Linked DNA regions of Homo sapiens: regions 1, 3 and 4 are each linked to region 2. The links are contacts of gene promoters, found by promoter capture Hi-C in blood cells and fetal thymus (Javierre and others, 2016). All regions are on one chromosome and are shown on one strand. The core of a region is centred on a gene start or on the middle of the fragment in contact, and the rest is flanking DNA. Distances in the headings are between cores, read along the strand shown. Region 1 overlaps KALRN (kalirin RhoGEF kinase). Region 2 holds the start of ROPN1 (rhophilin associated tail protein 1). Region 3 overlaps KALRN (kalirin RhoGEF kinase). Region 4 overlaps KALRN (kalirin RhoGEF kinase).

Evidence for each region. Contacts are between HindIII fragments. The CHiCAGO score rates a contact against its expected background, and 5 or more counts as called.
Region 1: a contact is called between a fragment that was not itself captured here and the fragment with the promoter of ROPN1 in region 2, in 1 of 17 cell types (M2 macrophages). The highest score is 5.6, in M2 macrophages.
Region 3: a contact is called between a fragment that was not itself captured here and the fragment with the promoter of ROPN1 in region 2, in 1 of 17 cell types (M1 macrophages). The highest score is 7.0, in M1 macrophages.
Region 4: a contact is called between a fragment that was not itself captured here and the fragment with the promoter of ROPN1 in region 2, in 2 of 17 cell types (endothelial precursors and M1 macrophages). The highest score is 5.7, in endothelial precursors.

Annotation. Positions count from the first base shown.
Region 1 is chr3:124,535,172-124,537,871 of GRCh38, reverse strand. All of the region lies in intron 33 of KALRN (kalirin RhoGEF kinase), which reads right to left. Among named protein-coding and RNA genes, the nearest start is that of MIR6083, 160 kb to the right of the region's middle. The HindIII fragment of the contact is 5,865 bases long and covers 1-2,700 here.
Region 2 is chr3:123,990,790-123,993,489 of GRCh38, reverse strand. ROPN1 (rhophilin associated tail protein 1) reads left to right here and starts at 1,366. Exons shown (of 6, transcript NM_001317774.2): 1 at 1,366-1,568. RefSeq lists an enhancer at 1,078-1,594. The HindIII fragment of the contact is 3,137 bases long and covers 1-2,700 here.
Region 3 is chr3:124,512,077-124,514,776 of GRCh38, reverse strand. All of the region lies in intron 33 of KALRN (kalirin RhoGEF kinase), which reads right to left. Among named protein-coding and RNA genes, the nearest start is that of MIR6083, 140 kb to the right of the region's middle. The HindIII fragment of the contact is 213 bases long and covers 1,292-1,504 here.
Region 4 is chr3:124,555,030-124,557,729 of GRCh38, reverse strand. The region is part of intron 33 of KALRN (kalirin RhoGEF kinase); the gene reads right to left. It overlaps LOC105374076 (a long non-coding RNA gene), which reads left to right. Exons shown (of 4, transcript XR_001740872.2): 3 at 2,509-2,643. Among named protein-coding and RNA genes, the nearest start is that of UMPS, 170 kb to the left of the region's middle. RefSeq lists a silencer at 1,849-2,040. The HindIII fragment of the contact is 294 bases long and covers 1,153-1,446 here.

The DNA.
Region 1 (2,700 bases), core at 161-2,660, 540 kb before region 2:
ATAGAATGTGAGCATGCTCATCTTCCTTCTTCTCCTATTCCTCTACTGCCCAGAGAACCAGGTCCAAATCCCTGAGCATACCACATAAGGTTTCTCAGATCAACCTCTCAGTCTTTCCTACTCATCTGCTACCTAGACAGATCCTGCACGCCAAATCTCACCTATGCTTGCTGATTCTCAGACAGAGCCAACATTTTCCCAACTTCTTGACTTTTATTTATGATGTTTTTCTCAGCCTGGAATAGTTCCTTCCTTCCTTTCCCAAACCACACTTCTGTCATCTTCTGGAAATCCTTTTCCATCCTCGAGGCCAGTTCAAAGGCCACCTCATTCACGAATCGCCTCCATAAGCAGCTCCTGTCTGCATCATCACCACCAGCAGTTCCCAGTAACATCTCCCTACCTTTTCACTCTAGCAGAATGATATTTGTATCTCTATTCCAGCACATTTTTTGCCTTGGATGGTATTTGTCTACATTCCTGTACCTTTCACTGGATTGAAAGTATCGTGGTTTTAAAAAATTTCTCTTGGCCAGGCATGGTGGCTCACACCTGTAATCCCAGTACTTTTGGAGGCCAAGGCAGGAGGATCACCTTAGGTCGGGAGTTCAAGACCAGCCTGGCCAACATGGTGAAACCCCATCTCTACTAAAAATACAAAAATTAGCTGGGCGTAGTGGCACCTGCCTGTAGTCCCATATACTCAGGAGGCTGAGGCATGAGAATTGCCTGAAACCGGGAGGTGGAGGTTGCAGTGAGCCGAGATTGTGCCACTGCATTCCAGCCTGGGTGACAGAGTGAGACTCTATCTTAAAAAAAAATTCTCTTATGGAGTAGGTTTTCAATTATTGTCAACTGGAGTTTGCTGAAGTACATGGAAAGTGCTGTACTTCGCCTCATCATAAATTTGAAACTTCTACATCCCCTGCATGAAGATGTGGATTCTCTTATGTTTACTTTTTAAATTTCACATCTTTTTTAGTGTTTTAATTGAACTTTCTCAAGTCCTTTCAGAAATAAGTGTAGAGTGTATATTTTAAATGCCTTTTACTGGTTTATAACTTTGGGCTTTTCATTGTGGCATCATCAATTTTGAGGAAAATGTCTCATAACTCTTTAAAAATTGATCTGTCTTAAAATATATTTTAAATGTTAAGAAGGAAAAATACAACGCTTCTTTATGATATATGGAATAAGTTAGGAGTTATGAGTCTCAAGGATACCTTTGCTATACATTAATACTCTTCTGCACAAATAAAGTAACATCTTTTTCTGTACAAAGTAAGTACACAATGTGGAGGAGGAAACTAATTAGATATGTACAATGGATTGCTACTAGCAATTTTTCTGGTAATACAAAATAGAATGGAGGCTGGACATGGTGGCTCACGCCTATAATCCCAGCATTTTGGGAGGCTGAGGCAGGCGAATCACCTGAGGTCAGGAGTTCAAGACCAGCCTGGCCAACATGGCAAAACCCCATCTCTACTAAAAATACAAAAATTAGCCGGACGTGGTGGCTCATGCCTGTAATCCCAGCTACTCAGGAGGCTGAGGCAGGCGAATCACTTGAACCTGGGAGGCAGAGGTTGCAGTGAGCTGAGATTGCACCATTGCACTCCAGCCTTGGTGACAAGTGTGAAACTCCATCTCAAAAAAAAAAAAAAAAAAAAAAGAGTATGGATGGCAAAGACTTGCAAGTGCCTCCCAGAGTCCATCGTGCCCTTACTTCTTAGTAACGAAGACTCATTTTGGGTGGCTGGGGGAGACACATTGTTACCCAGTAAAAGACTACATTTCCCTGGTTCCCTTGCAGCTATTGCAGGCATATTATCACACTCTGGCCAATGGGATGTAACTCTTAGTGTTTGTTGCAATGGTCTTTTTAATATGGGGGATGGCACATTTTCCCTTCCCTTCCAACCTGCTCCCTGGAACACCATCCATCTAGGATATGAGAATTAGACTAAACCCTGGGAATGGTGAAGGAATCAGTTAGAAGGAGCCGGGTGCCTGAGGACTTTGTGGATCTTCTTTACCAGTCCTGGACCGCTTACCTGCAGTTATCTGTTATGTGAAAGAAAAATAAACTTCTCTGTTATTTAAGCCGGTGTCACCTGGGGCTTTTCTTTTATATGCAGCCAAGCCTTCTGATCCTGATCTAGATGACAGAGTCTTATGAAGGTAGACAAGGAAAGGTTGGAGATGTTTTTTAATCTCTGTGTTTTTCTATTCTGATCAGAAGAGAAAAGAAAATTCAAAAGCAGCTTGGATCAAAAAACCATATCTCATTGACAAAGGAGACAGAGAGTGAGGGGAATACCAGAGAGCTAATTATGAGTGCTCAGCCGACAGCAATGCCTGTGACACTCCTGATCTGAAACCCAAGTGACCAGACAGATTGAAGCAGACTGAAGGGGCAAGTTTTCATATCAGGTTGTGCTGTAGCACTCTTGGAAAACTTAAGTATAGCTGGTATAAGCAGAGCCAGAAAGTCTCTGCCTAAAAGAAAAGATGAGAAACAAGCTGTAAATTGGTGTAAGAAGTGAATACAGGGAACACTTGGAGTGACTGATGATGACTGAGTTTTGTGAGCATATCTGTACATAATCTTTTTCCAAATTTATTTCATTTTATATATTTTAATATATTCAAGGGTGTTTACAAGTTGCTAGTGTTTTAAAAAAAAAAACTTCTTTA
Region 2 (2,700 bases), core at 117-2,616:
TAGACTAATACACACTGTTGTATAAATGGAATGAAGGATTAGATGATGCAATGGGCCCCTTTAAAATAGGTGTGAAGTGACACGGGATGTAGCAGAGAAAGATGGGGCTTTTCTTGCCTCCTTGGGTGCTTAAAACGAACAGTCTTGAGACCAGGTGCGGTAGCTCAAACCTGTAATCCCAATACTTTGGGAGACCAAGGCAGGTGGATCACTTGAGCCCAGGGATTCAAGACCAGCCTGGGCAACATGGCAAAACCCCGTTTATAAAAATATAAAAATTAGCCTGTCATCGTGGCAAGCACCTGCAGTCTCAGCTACTTGGGAGGCTGAGGTGGGAGGATTGCTTAGACCTAGGAGATTGAGGCTGCAGTGAGTCATGATTACCCCATTGCACTCCAGCCTGGGCAACAGAGCAAGACCCTGTCTCAAAACACACACACACACACACACACACACACACACACACACACACACACACACACAGTCTTGAAACCGGAAGACCTGGAGTAAAGTTGGGCCCTGAGCCCTACTGCCAGCTGTTCGATCACAGGCAAAATTACTCGAAGCCTTGAGCCTGTTTTTTATTTCCAAAGCGAAGGTAATACCTACCTTCAGAGTTTACTGTGAAACTTTGATGTCATCATGTTTGTAAAAGTGCCCTGGCACAGTGACCACATTCTACCCTATAAATATTTTCTATCTTTCCCTGTTGTCCCCAGGCATCTCAGGCTCTGTTCCTATCCACTCCATGCCCCTTTCTTAGCATTATAAGGTCAAGAGTGAGGAATCTGGGACCACGCAACCCAGATTCAGATCCTGACTCTGTCACTTGCTGACTGTCATCTTGGACAAGTTTAACCTCTCTGTGCTCAGTTCCCTCATCTGTAAAAATGGGGATAACAATAGTACTTGCCTCATGGGGTGACAGTAAGGATGAAATGAGTTCATGTGTGTAATGCACTTAGAACAATTCCTGGCACCAAAAACTCATTGTAAGAAGTGTTGTTACTATGATTCCTGAGGAATTCTCACCTGTCCACTTTCCACAAGCCGAAAGATCAAGCTCCACTTCTGCCCTCTCACCTACAAAAGCGCACCGTCAATGGCTACACATTCCGCCCCACCCCCAACGCCCCCAGCCCGGGTTTCCTAACGTCCCCAGCCCAGTCCTTAACCCTCCAGGCCGTCTGGTCCTTCCACCACCAGCAAAGCCCAAAACAGCTTTCAGCGTCCCCTAGCAGCGCCCTAGCGGGACCCTGGGAACCCGCCGCTGCAGGAGAGGCGGGGCGGCTCTGTGACGTCGCGCCCGGCGCTACCCCTGGTGACCTGGCAGCGGAGCCCGCGCAGGGTTTGCCAGGCGAAGGCGGAGCGCTAACGTCTAACGCTAACGGCGGTCGTGCCCCGCCGCTGCTGTCACCCCCGGCCGCTGCTGCCCTCCCCGCCGAGGTTCTACTGCTCTCCTTCTTAAGAAGGGTGGGAGGCACTCGGTCTCTCCCCACACCTCTCGCCTGAGGCCAGGCGCCAGGTGTCGCCTGAAGCCAGACAGCCGGTTTGGGAGCGAGCCTGAGGTAGCCACCCCGAGGGGAAGTGGAGGGAGGGCAGGGCTCTGAGCGCCCCGAGGGCTGCGCTGGTCTGAGGGAGGAGCCCTGCCGGACGCCCCCTGGATTCTGAGCCTCTCCTTGTTCACAGGGCAAGGGGAAGGCAAGGGGATCTTCAAGAGAATGTGACTGTGGGGGATTATGGCTTTCTGGCCAATTTGTGTGCGTATTTTGTACCCAGAATACTATTATACGGTTTCTTACCCGGAGGACAGTGGTTGGGAGGCTCAAGAGTTTGGAATCAGAGCCCTCCACCGAGGAGCCACACCTCTGCTTTTTCATCAGCGACAGGGATATAAAAATACCTCTGGGTGAATTGTCATGTGGATGTCATGGGCATACCTAGCACTTCATAGACTCCTATCACACATTATTTTATACCTAGCACTTCATAGACTCCTGTCAGGCATTATTTTATACCTGGCACTTCATAGACTCCTATCACATATTATTTTATACCTAGCACTTCATAGACTCCTATCACGCATTATTTTATACCTAGCACTTCATAGACTCCTATCACGTGTTCATTTTATAGCTAGCACTTCATAGACTGCTATCACGCATTCATTTTTACTAGTACCTATTGAACACTAAGTTCCAGGCACTGGGCTAGGCACTGGGATGGTGTGGTGAGCAAAAACTGACCAGTCCTGCCGTGGAGTTTGCTGGGGGAGACACATGTTACTCAAAGAATCACACTAAGGATAGGTAAGTGATGCTCTGGAAGGGTATGTACAATGGAACTGACAGGGTAATCAGGGAAGGTTAAGCAGACCTCCAAAGGAAGAATCAACCTGTTAAGAGGAGGAGAATGTATTCCAAACAAGAGTAACCACATCCCAAACCCACCATCTCCAATTCCAAACCCAAACAGGGATGTGCAGTTGCCTGTGCTTGGTTCCAAGTGATACTCATAGAAACCCTCTGAGATTCTGCCCTGGAGCCTTTCATTCATGTTACTGGAGACTTTCATTTATGAAACGGAAGCCCTGTTTAGCCCATACCAATAAAACCAAGTGAGAGATCCCTGAAACAAGGCTATAGTCTATTTTAAGACCTACATTCTTCAGCACTTGGCAGGTATATGTTGGCCTCCATT
Region 3 (2,700 bases), core at 149-2,648, 520 kb before region 2:
TTGCTTTGTGTGTTTTTGCCTGAATCATCCAATTGTTTTCTTTAGTGGACTTGGCCAGTGGAAGGCAGTGTGCATAATGGATATCAGAAACACCTGGGTTCAAATCTCATCTCTGCCACTTTCTGGTTGTGTGACCCTGGGTAAATTATTCAACCTCTTGGAGTGACGTTTTCCTCATCTGCAAAATGAGGATAATGATACTTACCTTGAAGAATTGTTGTGGGAATGACAGGAGAGAGTACATGTAAAATGCCAGGCTCATATTAGGAGTTCAGTAAGAAAGGCAGTGGTTACTGTTAGTTGCTTAACCTCTGGATGGCTTGCTTGCAGGCAGCCTTTGTGATTTTCTCTGCCTGCCCAATTATAGCAGTGACTTCTTAGGGAAAGGCCTGTATCTCTTCCATTAGATCGGGTGGGGAATTCTGTCCTTGGCAGGGACTTTTAGGGAAAAGCCTGTATCTCTTCCATTAGATGGGGTGGGGGATTCTGTCCTTGGCAGGGACTTTATGTATTCTGTGTTCCTTCATTACCTACAGAGGAACTCTGTGAATACTATATTAACTGGTTTTAAAAAGGCTTTCTCCACCTCAGGTTTCAAACCAGAGCCCAGACTGGAAATATCACTTGATGCAGCCATCAGAATTAAAAACTGAGATATACAGTAACAAAAATATTAAATACTGCATAGAGAGAAGACATAAATTAATACCATGAAACACACTTTCAGGTCAGCTCTTTTCAAGGACTGATTTTTGCGACCTTCTTATTTGTTTTATCATGCATCCTACTCTGCCTGAAGGGTCTCCTTTTGAATCTAGATGTTTGTGTTTGCTGCTCATGTTGACCCCAGGGCTCTTCTTCCCAAATTCTATAAGGAGGTTACTGATAAAGACAGGCTGGCTGAGCGGTCAGCGATGAGCAGGAAGGCCTCGTAGGTGGTGCGGAGGTATGCCCACCTGTTATGCTGCCTCCTGAGTGACAGGCTGGCCACACCCACCCCAGTGCAAAGACATCAGCCACAGCCAGCAACATTCAATCTATGTTTTTCCTCTTGCCATTTTTCCCTCTGCTCAGGGAACCCTCTGAGAGAACTCTGAACCTAGGCAGTGTGGGAGAGACATCCTGGAAAATACTTGTTTCATGTCATTTTTTGTTTGTTTCCAATTTAGAAAGGTTAGAAATAGTTTCTTTACCAGAAAACCTTCCCTCTGTCCTTAGACTGTGGGAGAGGAGGGAAGAGAGGGTAATGGGTTCGGGGGAGCTGTCTTGACCCACCTCCTGTTTAAAAGCTTGCTGCTCACACAGTGGCAAACGCTTTCCCTAGTGGGCGCTCTCTGTGTCCTCCTGACCTGGGTCCCCGTGTCCCCATGCTGAGTCACTCTGGGAACCCCTCCCTCTGGAATCACAGAAAGTAAACACCAAACTGGAAACACGTCTGCTTCTCTCTCCCACTGCATATCTCTTCATGAAAATGTCTCATGAATTTGAAGCTATATTTCAAGCTTTTCCTCACCTTTTCCACAGGTCTCTAGACTGCGGGGTTTTGGGGTAAACCTTCAAGAACTTCTTATCCCCTTCCTGCTCCCAGCCCCCTACCCCCTGAATTTTCTTTCTCTTTCTTTTCACAGTCCAAGGCTCCTGACCTTCACAACCAAACAAAGTTGCCAGTTCTTCAGCTCACAACCTCTGCCAGTCCTGCAAGTCAGCCTGAATTCACTGTCTGACTGCCTTCTTGAATCCCAAGGTCCTGAGAGCGGATCACCCTGTTCTCTGCTAGGCACCTGCTCGTCCCTCACCCTTGGTTCATGCAGAGGGTGGACCCCAGCAACTATCTGATAATCTTGTTCCTTTCTGGTCTTTAAAAAATAATATCTATTAGGTTTTTGTTAAATTTATTATGTCATGTTGTAAGACATAATACAAAAACTAAAAAAGACACCACCCAGAAATACCCATTATTTACATTCTGGTGTATTTTCTTCATATATACATATATGCATACATACATGCACATACGTATGTATGTACATATGCATAAACACACATACAAACACACATGTGCACATACATATTCCCCCTTCATGTTTTTTTTTAAATTTTTAATTGTTTTTATTTTTTATTTTTCCAAGACAGAGACTTGCTCTGTTTCCCAGGCTGGAGTGCAGTGGTGTGATCTCAGCTCACTGCAACCTCTGCCTCTGTGGTTCCAGCAATTCTACTGCCTCAGCCTCCTGAGTAGCTGGGATTACAGGCGTGTGCCACCATGCCTGGCTAATTTTTTGTATTTTCAGTAGTGGCAGGGTTTCACCACGTTGGCCAGGCTGGTCTCAAACTCCTGACCTCATGATCCACCCGCCTCAGCTTCCCAAAGTGTTGGGATTATAGGCGTAAGCCACCGCACCTGGCCACCCCCTTCATGTTTAAAAGCAAAATTAGTCTTTCATATTGAGAGAGAATAGGAAGTGGGGGCAAAAATAACTCCAGGCTACAGCTCAGGTAAGCCCTGTATTGCGCCAGCGACAGTCATGAGCTTGTGGAGGACCCGACTTACTAGTTTATGTCACTGGCCTAATGGCCAGGGAAAATATCCAAGTTCTTGCCCCTCAAACCACATAGATGAATACTTCTTACAGAGTATATGGGAAACACACTGAGGAACACACACACAAATTCATAAATATACACAAACCAGAGATATAT
Region 4 (2,700 bases), core at 50-2,549, 560 kb before region 2:
TGCCCTGCAACTTCTTCCATCTGATCATCTGATTCCTCCACAACTCTTAGCCAGCCTTAGGCACCAAGTTCACATGAATTAACATCTACATATGAACAGCCTCACAGGAGGCCAGAGCTGGCTGGCAAAAAATGTAAAGCTGGAGCATATCTACTTGGCACAGTTTCAAGGGCACCGTGAAGTCCTGCCAACTCCTGTGCAAAAACTGTCTTTCTCTCCTCCCCTCAACACTCCCTGCACCTGCTGCTAATGCCTGGAATTCCTCCATCAGAAAGTGATTTCATTTAATTAGGTAATGTCCCTTAACATGAAACACCTCAAACCAGACTATGATTCCCTTCCAAATGCAAAAAGATGAGATGCACCACACAAGTGACATGCAGCTGTACTTTAAGCATGAAAATGCTCATAATAGCATTTTTTCAAATGAAGAAAATTTTACAACAATAACATCACCGCCCCCCTGCCCCAATACTAAAATATAAAAATCTACCCAGTGGGAAGTGGATGAGGGTTAAAAAGCTACCTATTGGGTACTATGCTCACTATCTAGGTGACGGGATCATTTGTACCCAAAACCTCAGCATCACACAATATACCTAGGTGACAAAACTGCATGTGTAACCCTTGAATCTAACATGGAAGTTGAAATTACTTAAAAAACCTAACAGGAAGGGAATGGTTAAATAATTATGATATATCTACTAAGTGAGTAATTAATTATGCAGCCATTAGATTATTTATAAAGCTTTGTAATAGCTTAAATACTTATATAAAGTAAAAAATTTTTTAAGAGGACAAGACGTACAGTTGTATATATAACTGTGTGAACATCATCAACAACTTAGCAACCCTATTCATAGGAAACAGAAGGAAAATTCGTTGAAATGTTAACACTGGTATTGTTGGGTGGTGCACTCTGGGTAATTTTCCCTCTGGCTTTCTGATCTCCAGTATTGCCCAGTGTTTCTCACATAAGTGCTGCTTTATAATGAAAGTAATGATAACATCAACAATAACAATCTCTAAAACAAATCAACAAAGGTAATGGGGAAAAATGCAAATATTTCAAGGAGGTGTAACACTTTGAGGGGAGAAATGGGGGAGCGGATAGACAGTTTCCAATTTTGCTCTAGGGCCACTATAGAAGCTTCAGGAAAGCCCCAAATTGCTGATGATGCTTTAGTATAGCTGCTTCAAATCCTTCCTCTACTAAACTTCTGTCCTCGCCCTACTATAAAACTCTGAAGGCTTCTCCAGAAACTAGGTTCCATTAAAAGAGCTTAGTGCTGTGCTTTTATCTTGAATTGATTATAATTTTTTTTTTAGCAAATGTGTAAAGCAATGTCTGGGCATTTAGGAACATTGTCGTGGAGCTCTGGGATTTCATCAGTTTGTATGTTGGAAGCCCATGGAGCTGCCAGGTCCAATTAAGAGGCTAAAGCTTACAATTTACTTTATCTTTGCTTGCTGGAACTGTGGCTTCTACTAACTGCAACTGAAGGAGCTGTTTGGTTTAGTTGTTTCCCATGGTGTGTAAATGAGCACCATGGTCCCCTGGTCTTGCAGGTCTTGTGAATTGCATAGTAATTAATAGTGGGAAGAATGCAGGAGTGGGAATCAGGAGGCCTTGGTGCTGGTGCAGGTTTTACCCATGTATGACACTCAGCAAACCCCTTCCCTTCTTCATACCTAAATTTCCTCATTTTTAAGATGAGGAAATTGGACTCCAGGGCTGCTTCCAGTTTTAATATTTGATAAATAGAGTAGTTTCTATATTGAATCTCTAACACACAGTGCTACTGAATTTTCTTGAGCACTTATCATTAATGTGTTGCCTTGTTTACATAAATTATGTGTTACTCTTATCCTATGTAAGATACAGAAGAGCAGAGCATTCCGTCTTGCTCATGGTCCTATCTCCCGAGTTTAGAGCAATGCCTGGCACACAGCAGGTGATAAATATCTGTTGAATGCGCGAGTGAATAAATTCCATGAATTATTGCCTGATATATAACTGAGATGCCTAGTTACAATGTCTGAGAGGTGTCTCCCATTGGCTGCCCACCTATTCCTATTAGTATCTTACAGATAACTGTTAATTTTTTTTTCTCAGCCCCTTTCAACCAAATTTATCTTGCCCTTTAATCATGTGACTATATCTCCATGAATTCCTAAACCTGACAAAAACAACATAAGGTGTTAGTGGGGGGAGACACAAATCCACAAGAACAAAGAGAATGGGAGGTAGTAAACAAGATAACTTTATTTATTTATTTATTTATTTATTTATTTATTTATTTATTTATTTATTTTGGGACAGAGTCTCGCTCTGTCACCCAGGCTGGAGTGCAGTGGTGCGATCTCCGCTCACTGCAAGCTCTGCCTTCCGGGTGCACGCCATTCTCCTGACCTCGTGATCCGCCCACCTCGGACTCGCAAAGTGCTGGGATTACAGGCGTGAGCCACTGCGCCGGGCTGAGAACTTTTTTTTTTCTTTAATGATAGAAAGCAGATGCAAGAATGATACTGACTTGGTAGAATGAGAAGATGAGATTCAAGCTCCTGCCAGTTATCTCTGCTCAACCCTCAGACAGCCCCAGGGAGTGGAAGCACCAGACGGCACTGAGGATGGACCTACAGGTGGGGCTAAAACAGGAAGATGGGACTCCTAGATCCCTCTTCTATCCTATGCGCACT